Linked DNA regions of Homo sapiens: all the other regions are linked to region 3. Evidence: promoter capture Hi-C in 16 types of primary human blood cells and fetal thymus (Javierre and others, 2016). All regions are on one chromosome and are shown on one strand. Each heading gives the region's core, a stretch centred on a gene start or on the middle of the fragment in contact. The rest is flanking DNA. Distances are from core to core; before and after follow the strand shown. Region 1 holds the start of BSDC1 (BSD domain containing 1). Region 2 overlaps BSDC1 (BSD domain containing 1). Region 3 holds the start of TMEM39B (transmembrane protein 39B).

Region 1 (3,558 bases), core at 770-3,269, 320 kb before region 3:
GCTGGGTGCAGTGGTTCATGCCTGTAATCCCAGCACTTTGGGAGGCTGAGGAGGGCAGATCACCTGAAGTCAGGAGTTCGAGACAAGCCTGGCCAACATAGTGAAACCCCATCTCTACTAAACATACAAAAATTAGTCGGGCATGGTGGTGCACAACTGTAATCCCAGATACTCGGGAGGCTGAGGCAGGAGAATCGCTTGAACCCGGGAGGCAGAGGTTGCAGCGAGCTGAGATTGCACCACTACACTCCAGCCCGGGCAACAGAGCAAGACTCTGACTCAAAATAAATAAATAAATAAAATAGATGTTTCCGTCTTCCACAGGGAGGACCAAAAATAAATAAATAAATAAAATAGATGTGTCCGTCTTCCACAGGGAGGACGTGGGATGGTGGCGGAGCTGGCTGCAGCAGAGCTACAAATAAATATAAAATAAATAAAATTAAATAAAATTAAATAAATAAAAGAAAGTTATTTCAAAGGATTGTCTGAGAGGCAAAAACCTAACTGCAGTGAGTTCAAGAGAGAATGGGAGGAGAGGGGAGTTGCAGACTGTGAGTAGGCAACGCTTTTGCTGTAAAGGGGAGTAGGGAAACGGTGAGGGATATAGAGAGGGCTGGTTTTTGTTTGCCTTTGAGATGGGAGAAACAGCAGTACGGATGATGACAAGGATAAATGCAGTCATCAGAGGGAAAAGAGATGAAGGGGGGATTACTAGATCTATGTCCTTAAGCAAACAAGAGGCGATGGGATCTACCGCACACGTGGAGGGGCTGACCTTAATTAAAGTCCAAAGTATGTGGGCTGTGGAATCTCCCTTCCAATCGCAGTAGAACTCAATCCAGGCGGTCTCCGGATTTCTCCAGACCACCTCCACCTGGCGTTGTTCTGAGCTGGGCCACCGAAAGTTGAGATTACTGAATGTGTGTGTCTCCCATTAACCCGTAAGCCCTCCAAAGGCTGCATCTAAGTCGCCTCTGAATTATTCACATTCCTCCAAACTCTGGGCCACAGCCCCGCAATATGGGCTTATTGAATTAGCCCAAAGAGACACAAAGCAGCCTCTACGCAGCTGGTTTCACAAAGGGGGGCGGTCCTAACCCTGCGCTCTGGGATCCTGACGTTCGAGCTATCTCTCCTCCTCCCCTCTGCTCCCAGCTCTCCGCAGTCCAGCTTGTCGGCTGATCATCGTCCATAGAGGCCACCGTACCCGACGTTTGCGGACAGTGACAAAGAGTCAAGCTTGGTGGAGCCTGAGGACAGGACTGAATGACGATTGAACTGAGAGTTCAGGGGCGGAGTTTGAGGGCGAACTCGGGACAGAGACTGGATAGAGTTCAGGGAGGCGGGACCTAATGATGGCGCAGGGAGGGGATTGGGCTGAGGGCGGTGCCGGCGCGAGGATTGGGCCGAGCGCCTCGGGGGCGGTCCTTGAGGGGGCGGTGCCGTGTCGGAAGTCAAAGGTCAGTAAATAGTGGTGATGTCATGCAGGCAAGATGGCGGAAGGGTGAGCTTGTCGTTTTGCTCCTAGGCGTTGGGGCCTGAATTCTCCCAGGGTTGGGGTGCTGGGCGAGAGTCCCGGTGGGGAACGTGAGATCAGCGGGGGCGTGGACTGATCTGAAAGGGCAGAGTGGAGTCGCATTGTGAGGGGGTGGGCAAGCGGTCTGCGAAGCCTCGGCCCGCAGGGTACATCTGAGCGGGGAACAAACCGGATCCTTGGGCGGGCAGGAATCGCACCGCGGTGCTGCCAGATGTGTCTGTCTTCCACAGGGAGGACGTGGGATGGTGGCGGAGCTGGCTGCAGCAGAGCTACCAAGCAGTCAAAGAGAAGGTAAGCCGGGCCCGTGCCCTTCTTCCCTCAGCAGGGCCCTGCGCCGCCTCAATGCAACCTGGTCCAACCAGCCCCGCCCAACTTTTGCGGGCGCTAAGTCTCAAGGATGAGGCTGACCTGGGCCTTTCTTTTAGCCTCTACCGGTCCACGGGAAGACAGACCTCGACGCAAACCAGTGTGATACTAGCCACAGTGAAATAAAGATGGTTTTAAAGGCTGGAGTTAACGAACGTTTTGTAGGAATCCATAGGAAGGAGCAATTTATTCCAGCTCAGGAAATTCAGTTTCTTCGTGAAAGAGAGAGCATTTGATACAGGTCTTGAAGGAAAAGATTCTAGCAGTAAAAAAACTTACTCGTATAGTCATTCAAATATTAGAGTATATGCGACAACCAGCACTCTGATAGGTCTTGAGGATACAGACTTCAGCCAAACAGATGTAATCCTGGGCCTTACAAAGCTCACAGTCTAGTGGAGAGACAGCCATTAACCGAGTAGCCAAACAAATAGTTGTTTAGTTACCGTTGTGGTAAGTTCTGTGAAAGGAAAGTACAGGGGCACCTTGTCTGTTCTGGTTAGTCAGTAACTCACCAGGGAAGGCCCCTGTGGAGAAGGAACCTCATCAAGGGCAACCCTGCCTAGACAGGATGAAAAGCAAGAACCCAAGCCAGAGATGAGCATGAGCCATACACACTGGTGCCTGATGAGTTCTAAGTAGGGGCTATGCAACGGGCAGTAGAGAGAGAGAGATTAATCACCAGAGAGTGGAAGGCCTTCTTGCTGAACAATCTCTGTGGGATGAGTGATATTTGGCTGTGCCAGTGGGTAATTTGCCAATGTGTATTCCTGTTTCATTTCATGCTTATTTGTCAAAATCAGCCCAACTGAATTGTGGGAAAAGTTGATTACTATTTACCTCAAGCAATTGGGATGAGTCCTGCTTCAGGGCCAACTCCAGGAAGCTTCTGACCTCACCTAAATAAGTCCTCTACTCTGGGAGTATTTTTGTTTTGTTTTGAGACAGAGTCTCACTCTGTCACCTAGGCTGGAGTGCACAGGTGCGGTCTCAGCTCGCTGCAACCTCTGCCTCCCAGATTGAAGTGATTCTTGTGCCTCAGCCTCCCGAGTAGCTGGGATTACAGGCATGTGCCACTACTCCTGGCTAATTTTTGTATTTTTAGTAGAGACAGGGTTTCACCATGTTGGCCAGACTGGTCTCGAACTCCTCACCTCAGGTGAGCCACCTGCCTCAGCTTCCCAAAGTGCTGGGATTATAGGCGTGAGCCACCACACCCAGACATCTGGGAGCGTTTTTATTCCTCCCTTATCCTGGGTACTCCTGGACAGCCTCTCAGCAATAGCCCAGCAAATCTGAGAATGCCCTGAGCTGTTTATGTTGTTGATGAGGACTGAGAGGCTTGCACCCTAACATTTGATAGAAGAGACCCGATAGTAGCATATTTCCTGTTGGGTAATTTCCTGGCAGGAAAGTCTGACATTCATTCAGCAGATGTTGCATGAGGGCCTCCTGTGTTTGTCTCAAGGTTGGTCTTATCATAACTTATGAAAAATAGATAGTTGGCCAACCTTCCGTCTTCATTCTTGGAATTCCCAGTTAAAAGCTGGGGTGGGGGTGGAGGTGGGAGTTGTTTATGCCTTTTTGGAAAGAAAAGACGTAATTTCCCTTTTTTTACTTTCTTACTCTTATATGTACTTGGGCAAGTGTTT
Region 2 (3,138 bases), core at 325-2,824, 300 kb before region 3:
GGTGCTTCACTGAGGAGACAAGCCTCGTATAGGAGAGTTGGTGAGTTTGGGGCAGGTGCAGGGGAGTGGTAGTCTAAGCTGAGGAGGCCTACAAAGACTAGCTAGCAAAGGGCATGGGGCATGTTTAAGGCGCGGTGACCTAAACCCACTCTTCTGTATTCTCTCCCAGGAGAAGGAGGTACAAGAAGGGTGAGTGGGTTGACTCAGAAATAGAACTTCAGAATTTAAAACCTTAAGCTGGATTCAGAAGGTTGGCCTTGGGGCCATAAAGCAGCAGAGCATGGATGCTAAGGCTGTGGGTTCTGGAGTTCAGACAGTTCTGGGTTCAAATCCCAACTTTGTTCATAAGTCATGTGACTTCAGAAAGATTACTAATCTTCTCTAAGCCTTTGTTTGCTCCTCCATAAACGGGATAATTGTTTCATGATAGATCCTCAGTCAGAGCAGAATTAAGTAGAGCCCTGCTTTGGGGAAATGAAAATAGAGGTAACATTCTCTGAGCACTTTCTCTGTGTCTAGATCTGTGCTAAGCACAGATGCATATGCACAGTAATATGCATATTACTCAATCCTTACAAAAGCCCTGTGAGATCTGTGTACTTTTTCTCATATTTCTAGTGGTAGGAACCTGAGATCAGTGACCCACCCAGTAAATATTTCAGTGTGAAATAGTCCTGTAGAAGAGGGAGGAGTAGGTGGTGGGCCTGACAGGTGTAATAGGGTTGCTGGGTGGATGGTCCCAGGGCCCACTGAGGTTGTGATTGTAGGTTTTAAGTGAGACCATCAACATGTTGTATTTTTGTTCAGCCATATTCAGTTGCTCAGGTGCAGGAACAGAGCAGATGGGGAGTTGGATCTAATTAGGTTCAAGTTTAGCCAGGTAAAATCAGTTGATGAAAAGAAGAAAGTCCGCTGGGCACAGTGGCTCACACCTATAATTGCAGTACTTAAGGGAGGCTGAGGCAGGTGGATCGCTTGAGCCCAGGAGTTTAAGACCAGCCCTGGCATTGTGATGAAACCCCATCTCTACAGAAAATACAAAAAATTAGCCAGATGTGGTGGCACGTGCCTGTAGTCCCAGCTACTCGGGAGGCTGAGGTGGGAGGATCACCTGAGTGGGGAGGTTGAGGCTGCAGTGAGTTGAGATTGCTGCACTGCCCTCCAGCCTGGGTGACAGAGCTGAGACCCTGTCTCAAAAAAATAGGAAAGAAAAGAAAGTATATGCAAGAAGTGATAAGAATGATGCCTCATGGAATCTGAGCTGAGTACGGGAGAGAATGAGGGATAGTGAAACAGTTGGAGGGTTACAAATTATAGGTTTCATTTGGAATTGGGCTACAAAGGGTGATCAGAAAAAATCAGTAGTGGTTGGAGACTGGATGGAATTGAAATTACAGGAGAGGTAAACATAAGCTCTTAACTACTCTGCTATGCTGCCTCTGCTGCCCTCAGGGCCTGTGAAAGGAGAGGCTGAGGATGTGCTATAGAAGACTCACAAGAAACAACCGTAGTCAGGTGGGAGGAAGCCAGAGTCTTGGACTAGGCTGGAACAGTGGGAACAGAGTAGAAGAAATAAAAAGAAGAATGGGGGCTTGGAGACAAAGTGACTCCTTTTTCCTGTTGGGCCCAAGTCCTAGGGTGACATAAGGCTTGGTCTCTGGGTATAGCAGAGTCTCTTGGGGTACCCTAGCCAAAGGGTTTTACTGGTTCCCAGGGTGATCCCTGTCATCGCAGAGCTGCTTTCCACCTATGTTTTGTCACAGCATTCGTCTGTTCTGAGAGACTGGACTTCTTTCTGCAGAGAAGGGGAGGAGAGATTGGGGCAGGCCTGTGGCCTGGAAGGAGCCTGGAGGTTAAGACCTCACTTCATGACCGTGTGACCTAAGAGCAGTTTTGCCTCTATTTCTTAACTGGGGAAGCAGAGAGCCGATTAAACAGAATAAAATGAGCTGTGAGTGACAGCACTACAAAGTTAGCAATCACCCGAAAACTTCCATTTTCAAAACCAAACCAGTAGAACTCCATTCTGAAGTCTTAAATTGTAGCATAGGCCACCTCTCTGCCACATGCACATTGTAATGGAGATCTTAGTGCTCTCCTTGTGTGACAGGGTAGGACGGTGGAAGGAGGCAGATGGCAGAGAGAACCCAGCTTCACAGCTCCCTGCACCACCTGAAGCCTTCATTTCCTCATCCGTATACTGGGACTGTTAATACCCACCCAAGAGCTAGATGTGGAATATTCCAGAAATGTTAGTGGATACTCTGTTCTCTACCCCTGAAAGGTTCTGCCATAGCATTTAAGCCTGAAGAGACAGTTTCAAGTCCCTAGAGGGCAACCTGAGGTTAGGGAAAGCTGTCATGGCCACAACCAAAGCCCTGAAGTGAGGAAGCAGCGAAGAGTCTGGCTAACCCACAGGAAGCCTGTGGTGACAGCCAGATGAATGTCACCTAAGTGTCCTGAAGGCACAGAGGGATGTAGGTGCAGAGTCAGAAGAGCTGGGTCTTGGCTGCCCTGACTTCCTGAGGTACCGTGTACAGAATGACATAACTCTGAGACAAGGCCCTTAGAAGAAAGGCAGCACCATTCATTACATAGCCATGTGTATGTATGTAATAGGCACTTTACATTCATACCTCTAATTCTAACACCATTGTTTCTCAAACGGCAGGGCCAGGTCTACACAGAACACACAGGTACCTGCTTATAATGCAGCCTTCCCAGCCACCAGCTAGACCTGCTGAGTCTTAGTTGGGACTGGGGGTGGGCAGGGTAGGAGTCTGTATTTTAATACGCTTCTCCAGTGGTTCTTTGCAGAGGTTGCTTTTATCCATATTTTATAAATAGACTGAAGCCAACAATAATTTGCCCAAGACTACACAGTAAAGGAGTAGGTATTCAACCCAGGTCTGCCTGGCCCCAGAGACCATGCTCTGGCTAGAAGAGAGGATGATGCAGGATACCATAGAAGGAATGTGGGAGCGGGGCTGAGGGGTAGGTCTCAGCGCGGAGGCATCTGGTGAGGAGTAGGTCGGAGAAGAAGAAACGGAGATGTTTACTGGTCATGCCGTTGGAGGATCAGGGACCCACTCTTTTTAAAGGTACTTAAAAAAAAAGACTACAGGCTGGGTGCGGTGG
Region 3 (3,550 bases), core at 473-2,972:
CCGGACTGCCATTTCTGAAGTTTTGAAGTAACTCCCCATCACTCTCTCTCCAATTTCTATTCTTTTTTTCCACCAGAATTCACTCTCTGAAATTATCTTACTCATTTGTTAATATGCTTATTGCTTGTCTGTCCTATTACAATGAAAGGTCAATGAGGTCAGTTACCTTATCTTTTTCACTGCTATATCCCCTACCTCAGTGCCCAGCAAGTATATGTTGATGAGTGAATGAACCCAGCAAGGTAGGTTTTTCACACATTAGGAAACTCAGCTTACACTATGTCACAGTATCGTGGCTGGGTCGTGTGCTCTCAACTCTGGTACACATTGGGCCCCATTCAGACATAAGTTTCTGGAGGCCTATAACTCTGGGTAACTTTGGGACAGCTTTTTCATCCAGGGCCCCATGATTCAGCTCAAAGGGCATTCTGGGATCTCATGGGCAGGACCCAGGGCCTAAATAAAGGGTCAAGGATATGGCTGGGAGAATCCTGTGGCTGTGGACTGAAAAATTGGACCTACTAGGCTGAGCAGTCTAGCCCAAGCTCCCACGCACCACTTCGCACAAAAGTTCTGCACAAAGCTCCTAAGCACCTAAAAAAGTCACAACCTGACTGGGTGTGGTGGCTCACGACTGTAATCTCAGCAATTTGTGAGGCCGAGGCGGGAGGATCGCTTGAGACCAGGAGTTGGAGACCAGCCTGGGCAACATGGCGAAACCCGGTCTCTATTAAAAAATATATATACATACATATACATATTTTTAAAAAGTTATAACCTGTTCATACCTCTTCACAGTAACACAGCAGCCTCCATTCACATACACCCCACGCCGTAGCATCTCAGCTCGGAAGCGTTTCCCACACTTCGGAGCCAATTTTGGGCTTGGATGTATGCCCAAAATTATAAACCTCCACAAGTCTCTAAAAAGTACCTGGCGAAGAGCTCTGCCCTCCATAAACCCCCAGACCAGAAGCTCTGTTCATACGCTGTTATACTTGGCTTAGAAAATCCCACACAAACACCCTTAGTCCAGTCCAGAAGCTCTGCCCACACCCACTCTCCTCTCTTTAGAAGCTCTGCACCCACATAAAGCCCCTCAGCCCAGAAGCTCCGCCTACACACAACTGTCAGCCCAGAAACCCCGCCCACAAGCCAATAAAAGCCCTCTCAGCCCAGAAGCCCCACTCCAGAATGGGCTCCCTCAGTCGGAAGTCTCCCCGCTCCACCGCCCCCAGTGTAACCCCTCCAACCCAGAAACGCCGACTGCACTAGCGCCCCCTGCCCAGAATCTCCACCCTTAGCGCTGAAGCCACGCCCACTGGTAAGTCCCGCCCCCCTTTCTAGCCCCGACGAGCTGGTCCTCACGAAAGCCCAAGCCCCCACAGGGCTTCGTCTTAGAAGCCCCGCCCACCGTCCAATGTCCCGCCCCCACAACAGAGGCCCCACCCCGCAAAACGACAGGAGGGGGCGGGATCCCGTCTGCGCTCGCATCCCCTCCCCCTCCCGTCACCGGGCTCCTGTCCGCGTGGAGCAGCAATTAGCAGCCTGGCCATCCTAACCCGTGCGCCCGCTCGTTGCCAGGCCGAGCCTGAGCCGCTCTGCTCACCCATCTCCTCCCCCCGGTGCTCTCCGCTTCGCCGCCGCAGCTCCTGCGGGCAATATGTCGGAGGCGACGGCGGCCGGGAGAGGACTAACCGCCGCAGCCCAGTCCCGGGTATCAGCCGCGCGCTCCCGCCGCGCCGCTACATTTGCATACAAGGCGGGCTGGAAGCTGGCGCGCGCTTCTTAAAGGGGCCGCCCGGACGGAGGCGGTGCCTGCGCGCTCTTTGTCTCTCGGTCCCCCACGCCCTTCCTGCAGCTGCTGGTGAAGAGACTCAAGAGGGAGGGGAACGGAACCCACCTCCTGCTCTTCCCGTGCGTGTCTTCTCTCAGCATCTCCTGGACCGGGGCGGCGGCGACCGGAGGAGGGTGCGGAGCCGCCTCTCCGCTCCCCTAGGGGTGGACCATATCCCTGACCGGTCCGCAGGCACCTCCAGCCCAGCCCCACGTTGCGCTTCATCCTTCTCTTAGGCCTCACTGCGCTTTAGTCCACCCCAGTCAAAATCCAGGAGTCATTTCCTCCCTCCCTCGGCCCCCACATCCGATCTTTGCCTTAGTCTTTGTGAGCCTAAGTCCTAAATATTTCTCACATTTGACGTTACTCACCGTTCTCATTGTCAACACCGTGGTTCAGATCCTGACTGCCATTTCCCAGCCTTGCAATCTTGTTTTTTTATGCTTTACGATGAGGCTGCTGATGGTCACCGTGTAGGTTTCGGTGAGGGTTAAATGAAATAGAGCATGCAGAACTGAGTCTGTTTTAGTATTAGCCATCACGATGTTTGGAGAAGCATTGACTAAATGAGCTACATTTATTGTCATTAGGATTCTTCCCTCACAAGACCTACAAGCAGTTTTAGTCATCTTGTAGCTCCATTGCTTAGCACAGTGCTTGGCACTTAATAGCAGTATTCAATTAATTGAATGAATTAGTAGATATTTCATTAATAGTCATAGAGCTTACAGTCAAGTGGGAGGAGATAGACATGAACAAAATTGGTAAATTCTGTAGTATGTTAGATGGGAATGGTGTGAAGGAAAAACAGGAAAGGGGGATGGGGTTGCAGTTTTAAATAGGGCAGGCAGAGCAGGCTTCAGAGTTGACTTGAGTAAACACATGAAGGAAATGAGTGAGTCAGTGGTGCAGATTTCTGGAGAAAGGGGGCATTTCAGGCAGAGGGAATAGTTAGTGCAAGGTCCCTCAGGCAGGAGGGTGTATTTATTTTATTATTTTGTTTTTTGAGGGGATGGAGTCTCTGTTGCCCAGGCTGGAGAGCAGTGGCTCGATCTCGGCTCACTGCAACCTCCACCTGCTGGGTGCAAGCGATTCTCCTGCCTCAGCCTCCCAACAAGCTGAAATTACAGGCGTGCACCACCATGCCCGGCTAATTTTTGTTTTTGTTTTGTTTTGTTTTTTTGAGACTGGAGTCTCCCTTTCTGTTGCCCAGGCTGGAGTGCAGTGGTACGATCTCGGCTCACTGCAACCTCCGCTTCCCGGGTTCAAGCGATTCTCCTGTCTCAGCCTCCCAAGTAGCTGGGATTACAGGCACCCGCCAGCATGCCCGGCTAATTTTTCCATTTTTAGGAGAGGCGGGGTTTCACCATGTTGGCCAGGCTGGTCTCAAACTCCTGACCTCAAATCATCCACCCACCTCGACCTCCCAAAATGCTGGGATTACAGGTGTGCACCACCACGCCTGGTCTAATTTTTGTTTTTTTGTTTGTTTGTTTTTTTGAGACGGAGTCTCACTCTGTCCCCAGGCTGGAGTGCAGTGGTGTGATCTCGGGTCACTGCAACCTCCACCTCCCGGTTTCAAGTGATTCTCCTGCGTCAGCCTCCCAAGTAGCTGGGACTACAGGTGTGTGCCACCACACTTTGCTAATTTTTTGTATTTTTAGTAGAGATGGGGTTTCACCATGTTAGCCAGAATGGTCTCAATCTCCTGAC

What was found. Contacts are between HindIII fragments. The CHiCAGO score rates a contact against its expected background, and 5 or more counts as called.
Region 1: a fragment that was not itself captured here is called in contact with the fragment with the promoter of TMEM39B in region 3 in 6 of 17 cell types (non-activated CD4 T cells, total CD4 T cells, activated CD4 T cells and 3 more); the score reaches 6.3 in non-activated CD4 T cells.
Region 2: a contact is called between a fragment that was not itself captured here and the fragment with the promoter of TMEM39B in region 3, in 2 of 17 cell types (non-activated CD4 T cells and naive CD4 T cells). The highest score is 5.5, in non-activated CD4 T cells.

The regions. Positions count from the first base shown.
Region 1 is chr1:32,392,353-32,395,910 of GRCh38, reverse strand. It overlaps BSDC1 (BSD domain containing 1), which reads left to right and starts at 1,470. Exons shown (of 11, transcript NM_018045.8): 1 at 1,470-1,507; 2 at 1,771-1,831. The coding sequence starts at 1,497. RefSeq lists enhancers at 1-337, 1,085-1,164, 1,036-1,731, 1,455-1,744, 1,732-2,429. The HindIII fragment of the contact is 1,550 bases long and covers 1,245-2,794 here.
Region 2 is chr1:32,371,595-32,374,732 of GRCh38, reverse strand. All of the region lies in intron 9 of BSDC1 (BSD domain containing 1), which reads left to right. Among named protein-coding and RNA genes, the nearest start is that of TSSK3, 11 kb to the right of the region's middle. The HindIII fragment of the contact is 4,388 bases long and covers 1-3,138 here.
Region 3 is chr1:32,071,111-32,074,660 of GRCh38, reverse strand. TMEM39B (transmembrane protein 39B) reads right to left here and starts at 1,722. Exons shown (of 9, transcript NM_018056.4): 1 at 1,610-1,722. The coding sequence starts at 1,613. RefSeq lists an enhancer at 1,718-2,323. The HindIII fragment of the contact is 11,018 bases long and covers 1-3,550 here.